Regions from separate parts of the Homo sapiens genome. Here all the other regions are linked to region 2. The links are contacts of gene promoters, found by promoter capture Hi-C in blood cells and fetal thymus (Javierre and others, 2016). All regions are on one chromosome and are shown on one strand. The core of a region is centred on a gene start or on the middle of the fragment in contact, and the rest is flanking DNA. Distances in the headings are between cores, read along the strand shown.

Region 1 (4,213 bases), core at 1,596-4,095, 270 kb after region 2:
TACTGTTAATCACTTTACTTTTTTCATTTTATAATATAACTTGGAAATCTTTCTATCTTGGCACAGAGGGAACTCCTTCACTCTTTGTGGAATGGAAGGTGTGTAATATTCCATTATCAGAGATGGATCCTAATAAATTAGTTCATTACCAGTGGCCACTTGGCTTATTTTTCATCCTTTGGTATCGTAACAGTTAACAACTTTGTGTAAATGCAATTTCATACACAGGAGAGGCCTGTATATGTAGACTATGTCCATGACATACATATATGTAGAATTAGTTACCAGAAGTCAAAGTGCTATTTCCTCCCTCCACTCTATTGGGTGCTCTGAGATTTAGGTCTCTCTGAGGGTACTGTGGGGCACAGTGATTCTCCTTATGTCAGAATCCCTGATTACGTGCATACTTATGTCTGCCATGCTAAATCAAGTACCATTCTTCTATCCCCTTCTGTTTTCCAGAAATTTACTGAACTCTCTCTCTCACTGAATAGAGTAAGAATAACCTATGCTTGGCCAGGCGTGGTGGCTCATGCCTGTAATCCCAGCACTTTGAGAGGCTGAGACGGGAGGATCGCTTGAGGCCAGGAGTTCAAGACCAGCCTGGTCAATGTAGTGAGACCCCGTCTCTAAAAGCACAAAAGAAAAAGAAAAAAAAAAAGAATAATCTATTCTTATTTCACTTGTTTTTGTGGACTTGTACCTTTGTTATTCCTTTAATATGATCTTAGTAAGGTCTCAGGATGGGGGAAAAAGTAAACAATATGTAAATAATCTGCTACAACTGGTGGGATTTCATTTTTTAATAAGTTCTTCCTCAATTCTTAAAAGTAATTATACATTTTAAGTATATATGTCTATACACATGTATACTTAACATATATAAAATATATACAAATATATACATATCATACTATATTATCAAGCTAAGCTTAAATAGCATTTAAATTCATCAATTATAAAACTTTATTATTCAATTTTGTGCGTTCCCATTATACACACATGTAAGACACTATGCCACAGAAAGTAACATATCTTCCAATATCAATAAATTTTTTTTAAAGGAGATGAAAAAGAATTAAGCAAGAAAAAAGCTACTAACTTACCTTGGAGAACCATGTACATTTGTGCCTGAGCTGGCAGTAGATGTAAGATTCTGCTCTATGCGCTGATAATTCCTTATTTGAGTAGGAACTGGAATTGGTGCTGTTTCGCTGTGAGGTGACACAGTAGGCTGACACTGCCTGCAATCGTAATTTATTGAAAAAGGAAAGAAACAGTGGTAGGATTGTTTTTCTTTCATTTGACCCATTAGTTATATTTAGAGAAAATTCCAGAAAGAGCCAAATGGTCACTCCACTACCTTAATAAGAAATGATCTTGTTAAAAAATATATAAAGCCAAAAAAAATCACATTTATTATCTAAAAAACTCCTGGCATTCATATGCATATTGAGGACTAAGAATTATAATAACCTGGAAAAAAGTTCCTTTACAACAACAGGAAAAGTCCACAGGTCAGCAAAACTGTTTCATCCACTCACATTCTGCTATTCATTACTATGTGAGAGAAAAAATATCCAGGAAAATATGCTGGGTAAAAGAACGGGAAGTTCAACAACAAAGATGACTGGAATGTTTGCAAAAGTCATGAATGCTGTAAGCATTCTCAAAGAGCTCTGACTTTATGAAGAAGGAGAACATCTTGCACAAACTCTCAAAGCATGCAACTCATCTGACGTCCACATTTTGTAGTGTCAGTATTTGGTTTCTTTAATAGCCTCTTTCCTCACTTTTCATAAATTCAGAAATAGAATGTCCTTATACCACTTTCAATTCACTTTACAACATATCCTAAAAACATATCAGAGATAACACTGGGCCCTAAGAGAGATGACTTATTTCAAAGTAAAAAGAAATACAAAACACTTTTGTAGTGGAGATGTTAGCTGCTTTCCCAATATCCATTCAGCCTTTATGTCTTACTAAAAAATAACTTAAATTTTATTAGTGGCAATAATATGCCCAATTAATTGCAGCATATCCCAGACTCCCTTGCAGCCAAGCATAACCATATGTCTTTCTTGGTCAGTGAGATATAAGCAGAAGTCTTCTACTCATTCTTCCTGTTCAAAATGTGAGCATGCTTGCTGGAGCTTCAGCAGATACCTTTGAACCACAAAAAAAAAGGCCAAAAGACCTGAAGACACGTAACTTCCTTGAGCCACAGAAACTAAGGAAACAACTGTTTATCGTGACTTTTCTGCATGAGAGAAAACCTTTAAGTGTTCAACCACTCTATAGTTAGGACCCTGTGGTTTACAGCCAAGTGGAATTCCTAATGATACGCCATTTAGTGTGCTTCTATGAGCTCTCTCTATACATTTTTATTTAGGTATTTCCATTTAGTATCTTTAAATACAATAATGTTTTTAATATCTACACATCTGATTCTTCAGTTTATCTACATCCTAAAAACAAACAAACAAAATCCCAAAAACACAAACCCTCTACTACCACTAAAACAGCTTAACAGTACTTCACTAATCAGCTCTGGTGTCTGCAAGCCAGTGCACTCATAGGTCTGACAACCCAAGTTCCTTAACAACAGAATAACCAACACAGTCATCAATTATCAGAATGTGAAAGAATAAATGCCATTTTTTTATTGTTTCAATTTAGTAAGTAAACAGAGTTTTTGAAGCATTCATTCCCTGCTAAAGTACATCAGGGAATTTTTTTTAAATACACATTATCAAGCTCTAAAATTTTTCCTGTACTGGTTAATCTCCAAAGGGAAGAAGCTAAATAAAGGTACCCAAAGAAGTAAACTTAGCAACCTCATAATTCTAAGCACCTCTCTCAGGTAATCTCAGCTGGCTTCTCTAACACCTCTGGTTCCTCCCCCTACCAGCATGAGGACATGAACAGCCATGGATGGTGTTCTGCAAATGTTATCTCAGATAGTCTCTGGACAGGACCTGCAAGCAGACTTGCTCAGGGTCTAGAAAGTCTTCCCTGGACAAATTCCAGATCTCTAGCTAGCTAAGACAACTGCAGCCATTTTCCTGTACAACTTAATATTAACACCAATATTTAACCATCTTCAACTCCCTGAGTCCAAGTTAAGGAGAGGGAAAGTCTGTGTATGTCCTGAGTCTCCAGCACATCTTCCTCACCTCCACTAGGGCCTACAATTCACAACATTCTCTGTGTGGACCGTCATCTTGGACCCATATGAAATACTTGAAAGATAAGGCAGCCTGGCCACACAAAAGCACAATCACATGTTATTCTATCTACTTGTGCTGAGAGGAAAGCACAAATGCAAATGGACAAATAAAGACTAGGTGATAGCATGACAACTTCTTCAAATACACAATCTTTACACCAGGAAATCCCCAGTTGCCTCTTTGTTTTAGAAGACTCCATGAGTAAATCCTGAAAGGGTGACAGGTAATCAGGAAAGCAAGGGTTCAGCTGGAAGTAATGCCAAGGGACAGAGGGAGAGAAGAAGGAAGGATCTATGCATAAGAGCTCCTGTGAAACTCAATCTAGCAGACTAATGCTAAGCCACAGTTGTGAGCTCATGCTCATGAGGCTGTGTAAGTGATGGGGAGCCAAGTGGAGATAACCTGCTCATCACCCAGAGACCCAAGCAGCATCAGAAAAGGGCCTAGTGTGGCACACAGGCACACAGCTTGCAAGGTTCTAGTGAGAAAGGGGTTACTGCATGTAAAGGGAAGCAATCAGAAGGGTAGAAATCCACTCAGATGGTGCACTCTAATGCACCATGGGCTGTGTATGCAGCTGGCCTCCATCAATGTCTGGCAACAACCAGTCTTAGAATTCTGATATCCTAACTCCCATGCCTATGCCTATTTTTTGTCTGGATGCACAAGGAATAGATATTATATTCCCTACATGTACTGAAAACTGCCATGTAGCTATTGAAGGCACTATTACTAAGAAGTGCTGCTTTAGAGAAAAATGCATATTCACTGGTAAAGGAAAGTTCAAGAATTAGACCATAGGAAGAGAAGCCAAAAAGGAGCCAAAGATGACTCAAGAAGAAAAAAAGGCAGCACATCAAAAGAAGTGAAAATCTGGCAATATACAATTCCCATAATTGAATTCCCATATCCTCAAAGAGAGGAAAGAAACAAGATTGTACAAGATTTGCTTATCCCCGTGGTTCCCAAACTGTGCACTG
Region 2 (4,051 bases), core at 601-3,100:
TATAGGCATGAGCCACTGTGCCTGGCCCGGTCTGTCAATTTCTACTGTGAGTAATCCCTTTGCCTTTTCTTTCCTAACATTATACATTACATTTCCATTTCCTGTCTTATTACATCAGTCAGGACTTCCAGAAAATTATCAAAAAACAGCAGTGATCAGAGATCTAGTGAATATCCTCGGGTATTTGTCTGTTGACACTCTCAGTTCTTTTGGGAAACTGCGCTACTCCATATGTACAGTCCTTGTGGGACGAGACCAGTCACAGGGCACCTAACCCTAACCCTGTAGGTTCAAAGCTGGGTGCATGGTCCAGGGCCAGCCAAACATCAGACCCTATTTTCCCACCCAGGGCGATTGTTCCAGAGGTGGGCAAGAAACCTAAGCAGGGCCAACCAGATTTTCTCCCAGTTTTTTGTTTGTTAGTTTGGAACCAGAAGAGAGGAGGGGAGGGCCTTACTTTCTGGTTTAACAGACGGGAAAGATAGGAACGAGGGTATCAGAGGCCACCACTGTCACTTGCACAGGAAGAGAAAGGCTGCCGGCAGAGGAGGAAGAGAAACTACGGAAAGAATCCCAAGGGGCGAGGAGAAGGGAGGAGAGGGACAGAGATGGGAAGAGGGACAACAAGAATGATCTGGTTTTGTTTTTTTTTTTTTTTTGAGTGGAGTCTCCCTCTGCCACCAGGCTGGAGTGCAGTGGCGAGATCTCGGCTCACTGCAACCTCTGCCTCCCGGGTTCAAGCAATTCTCCTGCCTCAGCCTCCCTAGTAGCTGGGATTATGGCGCGCGCCACCATGCACAGCTAATTTTCGGTACAGACGGTGTTTCACCATGTTGGCCAGGATGGTCTCGATCTCTTGACCTTGTGATCCGCCCGCCTAGGCCTCCCAAAGTGCTGGGATTACAGGCGTGAGCCACCGCGCCTGGCCTAATGACCTTGTTTTCAAATCCCTGAATCCAAACTTCCTGATTATGTGAGCCAAAAAATTTGTTTTCCATTTTCTCTACTTACATTGGATCATTACAACGGAAGGAATTTTGACTATTAGAGAAATCAATCTTGTCCTGGTAACTGACACTTATTAGGTAACGGCTGGTGCCAGGCTGAGGGCAGGTGGCACTGACTCCGGTCCTCCGCCCAGGCAACCCCAGTCTTCACAGCTGGCGACGAGTGTTCTTTCACGTTTGCAGATGAGGAAGCTGAGGCTCTGGGAGGAAAGCGCGCTGCTCCTGCCCTTCTGGGCCGCAGCCTCTCGTACTCCCACAGCAGGCTTGATGGATAAACTTCCAACACGACCAGCTGGCACAAACTGTGCTACTTGGCAAATGGGAGCATGTTGCTCTATCCTGGTAGATTCTAAGTTCTCTAATGGAACAACTGATGAGAGGAGAGGAGTATGCAACACCCTAACCAGCATCAAAGGGTGTACCCAACTCAATCTGCACAGCAAATGCGCCCAACCCCACACACCCCGCGGGGTGCTAACCGAGTCACGGCTCGAGGCCTCTGGGTCCTTCCACGCCAGGTCATTCAGAACCTGAAACCCCCAGCGGAGGTGGAGAGCCGGGGTGAGTCCTGGCGTCCGAGACGTGGAGGACCCAGCCCCCGGAGCGCGTTCCGTTAGTTTACAGAGCTTTTTCAAACTTTGCCTTCCAAGTGCAGGAGTTCCTTGGTCTTTGCAAGACCCGCAGGCGTCCGCAGTGGTGCAGAGAGAGGTGCAAGGGGCGCGCCCAAGGTCGCAGGCTGCCTGGCTGCGCGCTCAGTCGGGCCCCCGGGCGCCAGGCGCGGGGCGGGCTCTGGGCGGGCGGCCGGGGCGGGGACTGCAGAGCAGGCTGCACTGCGCGGTACCCACTGCCGGCCTGCGCGGTACTCACTGCCGGCCTCCGCGGTACCCACTGCCGGCCTCCGCGCTACCCGGCCGCAGCGCGCGAGTCACATGGAAGCTCCTGAGGAGCCCGCGCCAGTGCGCGGAGGCCCGGAGGCCACCCTTGAGGTCCGTGGGTCGCGCTGCTTGCGGCTGTCCGCCTTCCGAGAAGAGCTGCGGGCGCTCTTGGTCCTGGCTGGCCCCGCGGTGAGTAAGGTGGCCTCAGTGGCAGGCCGGTACCGGCGGGCTGGGGACCTGGTGATTTCTGCCTCCGCGGGTGACTTTGGCGGGCTTTGGGGACCGAGCGAGCTGTCCGCCGGCGGGCTCCGGGGAGCATCGTGCCAGGAGCCGGGCGGGCACCCCAGCTCCTCTGCCTGCGTCCCGGCCGCTTTCCGCTCCGCACCACCCGACTGGGGGCCCCGCGGGGCACTGCGGGAACGGCTGGTACGCGCCCGGGCGCATGTTGGCTCGGAGAGGCCGGCGGCTCCAGCCTCCTGCGCCAGGAGACACCGGAGAGCTGGGACCTTTGCCCCTAACGGGGCTCTACCAGGTCCAGGCTGCATTTGCATCCGGGGGTGCCTTCTCTGGGAGCTGATTCCGGCCAATAAAACGCAAGTTGCCTGAACTTCAAAACACAAGGGAACTTGTTTCTTTGAAAAGTAGCGGTCAAAAGTTCGGGAGCTCTGCGATCTAAATAATCCCGAGGCACGGAGGAGGGGGTGCGTGGTCTGTCGTGGACTCAGAGCTGCGAAATGATTTCTTCAGAATTCAGTCAACCTCTACCGAGGAAACCAGAGGCATCCTGTACCACCCCCTCCCCGCCAGTAATTATGTATGTGAAAGAAAAAAGGGGTTTTAATGTGGTTCTTTGTGGGGTCGAGGTGTTCTTATCTGTGGGATTCTTTTCTTTTTAATCATTAGGTTAGGGCTGTTTCTGCCTTGTCTCCTAAAAATAATGTGGTTTTAAAAACCACAAAAACACAATCCTATCCACGTTCTCCTGCCAGCTTGGGTGGTTTTCAAACCGAGAGGGTAGGACGCGGCACAAGAAGCAACTGGTATGCACTTAAGGCGTGAATAAGCTTTTGACTTTGAGGCCCACATTCTGCACCTGCGCGGGCTGAGGGGGGCCGCTGTGCCTCTGGAGTGGGGGCTCGGTAGTTTGTGGGATATTGTGGCACCCGCTGTGGTGTGCAGGACAGCAAGGGTAATGCCGAGGTCAAAGCCATGGAATAAGATCCATCAGCCATGCTTTCTCACAGACCAGAAAGAACTCATGATTTGGGGCTGGGCGCGGTGGTTCACGCCTGTAATCCCAGCACTTTGGGAGGCTGAGGCAGATGGATCACTTGAGGTCAGGAGTTCGAGACCAGCCTGGCCAATATGGTGAAACTCCGTCTCTACTAAAAATACAAAAATTAGCCAGACGTGGTGGCGGGCGCCTGTAGTGCCAGCTACTCCAGAGGCTGAGGCACGAGAATCGCTTGAACCTGGGAAGTGGAGGTTACAGTGAGCCAGGATGGTGCCACTGCACTCCAGCCTGAACAACAGAGTAAGACTTGGTCTCAAAAAACAAAACAAAACAAAACAAAAACACCTCATGGCTGGGCGTGGTGGCTCACGTCTGTAATCCCAGCACTTTGGGAGGCCAAGGCAGGCGGATCACGAGGTCAAGAGATTGAGACCATCCTGGCCAACCTGGTGAAACCCCGTCTATACTAAAAATACAAAAAATAAAAAATAAAAATTAGCTGGGCATGGTGGCAGGCGCCTGTAATTCCAGCTACTTGGGAGGCTGAGGCAGGAGAACCGCTTGAACCCGGGAGGCGGAGGTTGCAGTGAGCCCAGATCGCGCCATTGCACTCCAGCCTGGGCAAAAAAACACCTCATGATTTGGAATCTCAAGACCTGGGGCTGCGTGCCCTGCTTTGACCTCCGAAAGTAAGTCAGGAAGCAGCTGTGCAGATTGAAACAGCCTCCTAACCTCTTCTGGTCTCTGCATATTCATTTGTAAAATGGAGATAATAATCATGTCTTGGTTCAACACTCCCTCACAGAGCTGCTGTGAGAAGGGGCTTTCTAAGGCTATTATTGTTTTATTATTATTATTATTTTTTGAGACAGGGTCTTGATCTGTCGGCCAGGCTGGAGTGCAGTGGTGTGATCACAGCTCACTGCAGCCTCAAC
Region 3 (4,705 bases), core at 167-2,666, 290 kb after region 2:
AGTCAAAGAAAATTTCCAGTTCAACGTCCTCCCTACTGGCCTCTCTCATCCCTCAGTCACACTATCACCCCACAGGCTCCTTTATGTTTGCTCTCCCAAAATTAGATTCTTCCCTGTTGTTCTTTCCTCTAGCACAAGCTTTGCTTTTCATATTACATTGTGTCAAATATATGGTTCATAATAATAGCCACAATTTATTGAGACTTTGCCATGGCTAGGCACTTCCCACATCTTACTACCAGGACCCTGCAAGCAAAGGTTAAACAAGCCTATGGTCCAGATGAGGACACCATGGCCCACCTCTCTAACTGACCGGCCCAAAGTCACTGAGTGGGCAAGCAGCAGGGCTAGGATTGGTGCCAGCGTGTCTGGCTCTTAATTTTTTTAGTTCACCAGAACATAACATAAGTCTTATTAACATAATCTGCTTTATCTATTTGGTATGAATTTGCGGGGCTGTGTAAGAAAGGTTTGCTGCCAGTTTTGAGACTTGTCTGTTTGCAACAGGCTACATCTGCATCTGCTTTACCTAACAGTTGCCACCCCTTGCGTTATATACTATGTGTCAGACCCTGCATGCAATAAGTGCTTACACTCACTTATCCCTGAAGAACCCTACGAGGTAGGTAAATTACACTTACTTGACATACAAAAAAAAGGTGTCCTATATGACAGGTAAGGTACATGGAGGCTGCAAGCCCCATCCACTTAAACCTCTGAGTTGTCTCACTTTTATGGCTCCCCTATCTTTCTGCCAGCGGCATTCAAGAAATTGATGTCTGGGGCAGGGTGCCGTGGCTCACACTTTGGGAGGCCAAGGCGGGCAGATCACTTGAGTTCAGGAGTTTCAGACCAGCCTGGCCAACATAGTGAAACCCCGTCTCTACAAAAGATACAAAAAATTAGCTGGGTGTGGTGGTGTGCGCCTACAGTCCCAGCTACTTGGGAGGCTGAGGCTGGGAGAATCGCTTAAACCCAGGAGGCGGAGGTTGCAGTGAGCCAAGATGGAGCCACTAAACTCCAGCCTGGGCGACAGAGCGAAACTCCATCTCAAAAAAAAAAAAAAAAAAAAAAAAAAAAGCCTAAGAGAAGAGTGGAGTAGGAAGAAGTGACTAGAGTGACCAGAAGGCCTCAGGATTAGGAAGAAGTACTGAGATGGGAGGGAACACAGCCATGAAGAAAATGCCTTGGGAGCTTCAGGGAAAGGAAGAGGTTTGAGTAGAAGCCACCTTAAAGCGCCAGAAATCATGATTAAGAGAATCTAAGTCAGTGAAATCTGGCTCAGAGGTGACTCCTCCCTCAGTAGAAATTCCACATACAAAAAAAATCCAAGCTCATGTCTACGGCATTCAGATCAAATAAATATTTATTGCCTATCCACCTGTAATGGGTACTCTGTTTGCAAGTATCATCACCAAAACACCATAGGGTATAAGAAGGTGATAGTGCTATACTCACTGTTCAGAGGAAAATGGCCCAGAGAGGTGACATTTCTTTCTGGAGCTTACACAGTAACATATGGACAGAGGCCCGAATGCAGGTCCATTTGACCCAACTATCATGTTCTTTCCCCCAAATCTCAGCTACATTAGTAAACATTACACATAAAAAGAATATCCACAGTGTATGTGCATGCTCCATTTGAGAAAAGATGTAATAGCACTAACTCTGAAATTATTTTTAATAAACTGTAACTTACTGGTGGAGAAGCAAAACGACAAGATGGAGAGCTGCCACAGGAGCTTCCAGAGACAGAACCAGAATACATGGGCACTGGAACTGGGCAAGCTAGGGGAAGAAACACAAATGAACTACATCATTTTGTAGTGCAGTCACATGACCTGTATAACAGAAACACTTGCCAAAACTACTACACCTTTGTGTTCCCCCAAAATCTGCATTTACCTATTTATTACCACATCTGCTGATGAAACTAAAAATGCAGCAATTACTAAAACTATTTCAACTTCGTTTCAGAAGGAAAAATAGAACAGTTATTAAATAAACACAACCGTAGGTATCTAAGAAAATCAGGCTGGGAGCAGAGGCTCACTCCTATAATCCCAACACTTTGGGAGGCTGAGGCAGGAGGATCACTTGAGGTCAGGAGTTTGAGACCAGCCTGACCAACATGGTGAAACCTCGTCTCTACTAAAAATACAAAAATTAGCCAGGTGTGGTAGTGCCCGCCTGTAATCCCAGCTACTCCAGAGGCTGAGGCAGGAGAATCACTTGAAACCAGGAAGCAGAGGTTGTACCACTGCACTCCAGCCTGAGTGACAGAGCAAGACTCCGTTTAAAAAAAAAAGTAGCTGGGTGTGGTGGCTCACACCTGTAATTCCAGCACTTTGTGGGGCTGAGGCGGGTGGATCACCTGAGGTCCGGAGTTCGAGACCAGCCTGACCAACATGGAGAAACCCCATCTCTACTAAAAATACAAAATTAGCCGGGCATGGTGGCGCATGCCTGTAATCCCAGCTACTCCAGAGGCTGAGGCAGGAGAATGGCTTGAACCCGGGAGGTGGAGGTTGCTGTGAGCCGAGATCACGCCACTGCACTCCAGCCTGGGCAACAAGAGCGAAACTCCATCTCAAAAAAAAAAAAAAAAAATAAATAAATAAATAAATAAATTCAATGAAATTTTAGGAGTCACAATAAAAGATGAATTTTGTAGTAAAAATCATTAATTTTTCCTAAAGCTTGCATTCATTCTTTAAGTGAAAATACAAAAAATGGATACTCACATTTTTTTACTGGACCTTGCTCAAGAAAAGGATGGCTAAAAAATGCTTCTGTAACAAGAAATGAGAATGCAACCTTTAAAGAGACATTGACTAAACTATCAACCAGGTTATTTTTTCTCAACGTATTCAATATAATGTCTTTGAGATCAGAATTTAACTTCTTTATATAGGCTCCATTTCCTTTAAATGTAAAAGCGTATTTTTTATAAATCCTCTATAAAATAATTATTTTTATAATCATATAAAATAATGAATCAATAACAAATTTTAAATAATTACGAATTCTCAAAACATCTATCACCAGCACAACATACTCTGATGCTACTTACACAGACATGTTCTCTAACGTATGCCACCCTCCAGTGGACAGCCCCACAGGAGAACTGTGATCACCAGGCCCTTGTTAAGCACCCATGTGAACTACAGCTGTTAATTGTCCTAAGAGGAAATTGATACAGCTGATTTATACAACAAACTATCCTTCGCCCCTACAAGTATTCCTGATGCTGGTTTCACATTAAAAAGAGAAAAAACTGGCCGGGTGTGGTGGCTCACGCCCGTAAGCCCAGCACTTTGGGAGGCCGAGGCAGGCAGATCACCTAAGGTCAGGAGATTGAGACCATCCTGGCTAACACGGTGAAACCCTGTCTCTACTAAAGATACAAAAAATTAGCTGGGCATGGCGGCCGGCGCCTGTAGTCCCAGCTACTCGGGAGGCTGAGGCAGGAGAATGGCGTGAACCCGGGAGGCGGAGCTTGCAGTGAGCCGAGATCGCGCCACTGCACTCCAGCCTGGGTGACAGAGCGAGACTCCGTCTCAAAAAAAAAAAAAAAGAAACTACAAAAACAATACATTCAATAATTTTAAAACCATTCTCCATAATAGTTGTTTCACTATTGACCATAATTCTCATGGTTCAGAGCAACTCTCAGCTTAACTTCTCCCTAATAGGTATAAATATTTCCAACTACATGAACTTAATTTTAGTCCAACTTTACAAAACATTAAGAAAATAGGTATTCAGACCATTTCATCTTTTCCCCGACATGGAAACAATTACAGCTATCCTCTACTGAGTATTCAACATTCACTAAGACAATGAACTGGGTGCTTCACAAACCTTATCTGAGGAAGTATGTCCTCCTATGATGGGTAATAAAATTAAAAGCACACAAAGGCCATGTTTCTTGTCCAATGTCAAAGAGTTAGTAAGGTGAGGGACTAGAATTCAAATTCTAGTCCAACTTATTTAAATACCAATGTGGGTTTCCCTATTATACTATACATTAGCAAACCAAAATCCTGGAGTATATTTCCACAAATCTCTGTTAGTATTACAACTATTACTACAGGAAAAGTCAAACACTTTTTTCCCTAAAAACTACAAGATCAGGGTTAATTTGCTAAGTATTTTCATTAAACATGTCTTAATGATTTCTCTGGTCTGACATTTTCAAGTAGCTGTTTTTACCTAAGATAAGAATTAGGTTGGACCGGGCGTGGTGGCTCACGCCTATAATCCCAGCACTTTGGGAGGCAGAGGTAGGTAGATCACCTGAGGTCAGGAGTTTGAGACCAGCCTGACCAACATGGAGAAACCCCGTCTCTACTAAAAATACAAAATTAACAGGCATGGTGGCACATGCCTGTAATCCCAGCTACTCAGGAGGCTGAGGCAGGGGAATCGCTTGAACCCGGAAGGTGGAGGTTGCGGTGAGCCGAGAACCTGCCATTGCGCTCCAGCCTAGGCACCAAGGGCGAAACTCTGTCTCAAAAAAAAAAAAAAAGCAACTTCCAAAAACTTTAAGATAAACTGATGAGACCCACACAGAGTTACAGAATCAAACTTTCAAAAGACAGAGAGAATCTTGGAAGCAAGAGAGAAGCAACTTGTAATATACAGGGATCCTTAATAAGAATATCAGCCAATTTCCCATCAAAAATCTTGAGGCCAGAAGGCA

What was found. Contacts are between HindIII fragments. The CHiCAGO score rates a contact against its expected background, and 5 or more counts as called.
Region 1: a fragment that was not itself captured here is called in contact with the fragment with the promoter of SLC47A1 in region 2 in 7 of 17 cell types (non-activated CD4 T cells, naive CD4 T cells, total CD4 T cells and 4 more); the score reaches 9.7 in non-activated CD4 T cells.
Region 3: a contact is called between a fragment that was not itself captured here and the fragment with the promoter of SLC47A1 in region 2, in 1 of 17 cell types (naive CD4 T cells). The highest score is 6.1, in naive CD4 T cells.

What each region holds. Positions count from the first base shown.
Region 1 is chr17:19,803,587-19,807,799 of GRCh38, forward strand. ULK2 (unc-51 like autophagy activating kinase 2) reads right to left here. Exons shown (of 27, transcript NM_014683.4): 15 at 1,107-1,244. Among named protein-coding and RNA genes, the nearest start is that of TRG-CCC3-1, 55 kb to the right of the region's middle. The HindIII fragment of the contact is 3,832 bases long and covers 930-4,213 here.
Region 2 is chr17:19,532,004-19,536,054 of GRCh38, forward strand. It overlaps SLC47A1 (solute carrier family 47 member 1), which reads left to right and starts at 1,851. Exons shown (of 17, transcript NM_018242.3): 1 at 1,851-2,071. The coding sequence starts at 1,937. The HindIII fragment of the contact is 8,699 bases long and covers 1-2,944 here.
Region 3 is chr17:19,823,395-19,828,099 of GRCh38, forward strand. It overlaps ULK2 (unc-51 like autophagy activating kinase 2), which reads right to left. Exons shown (of 27, transcript NM_014683.4): 11 at 2,745-2,792; 12 at 1,700-1,788. Among named protein-coding and RNA genes, the nearest start is that of TRG-CCC3-1, 35 kb to the right of the region's middle. The HindIII fragment of the contact is 2,561 bases long and covers 137-2,697 here.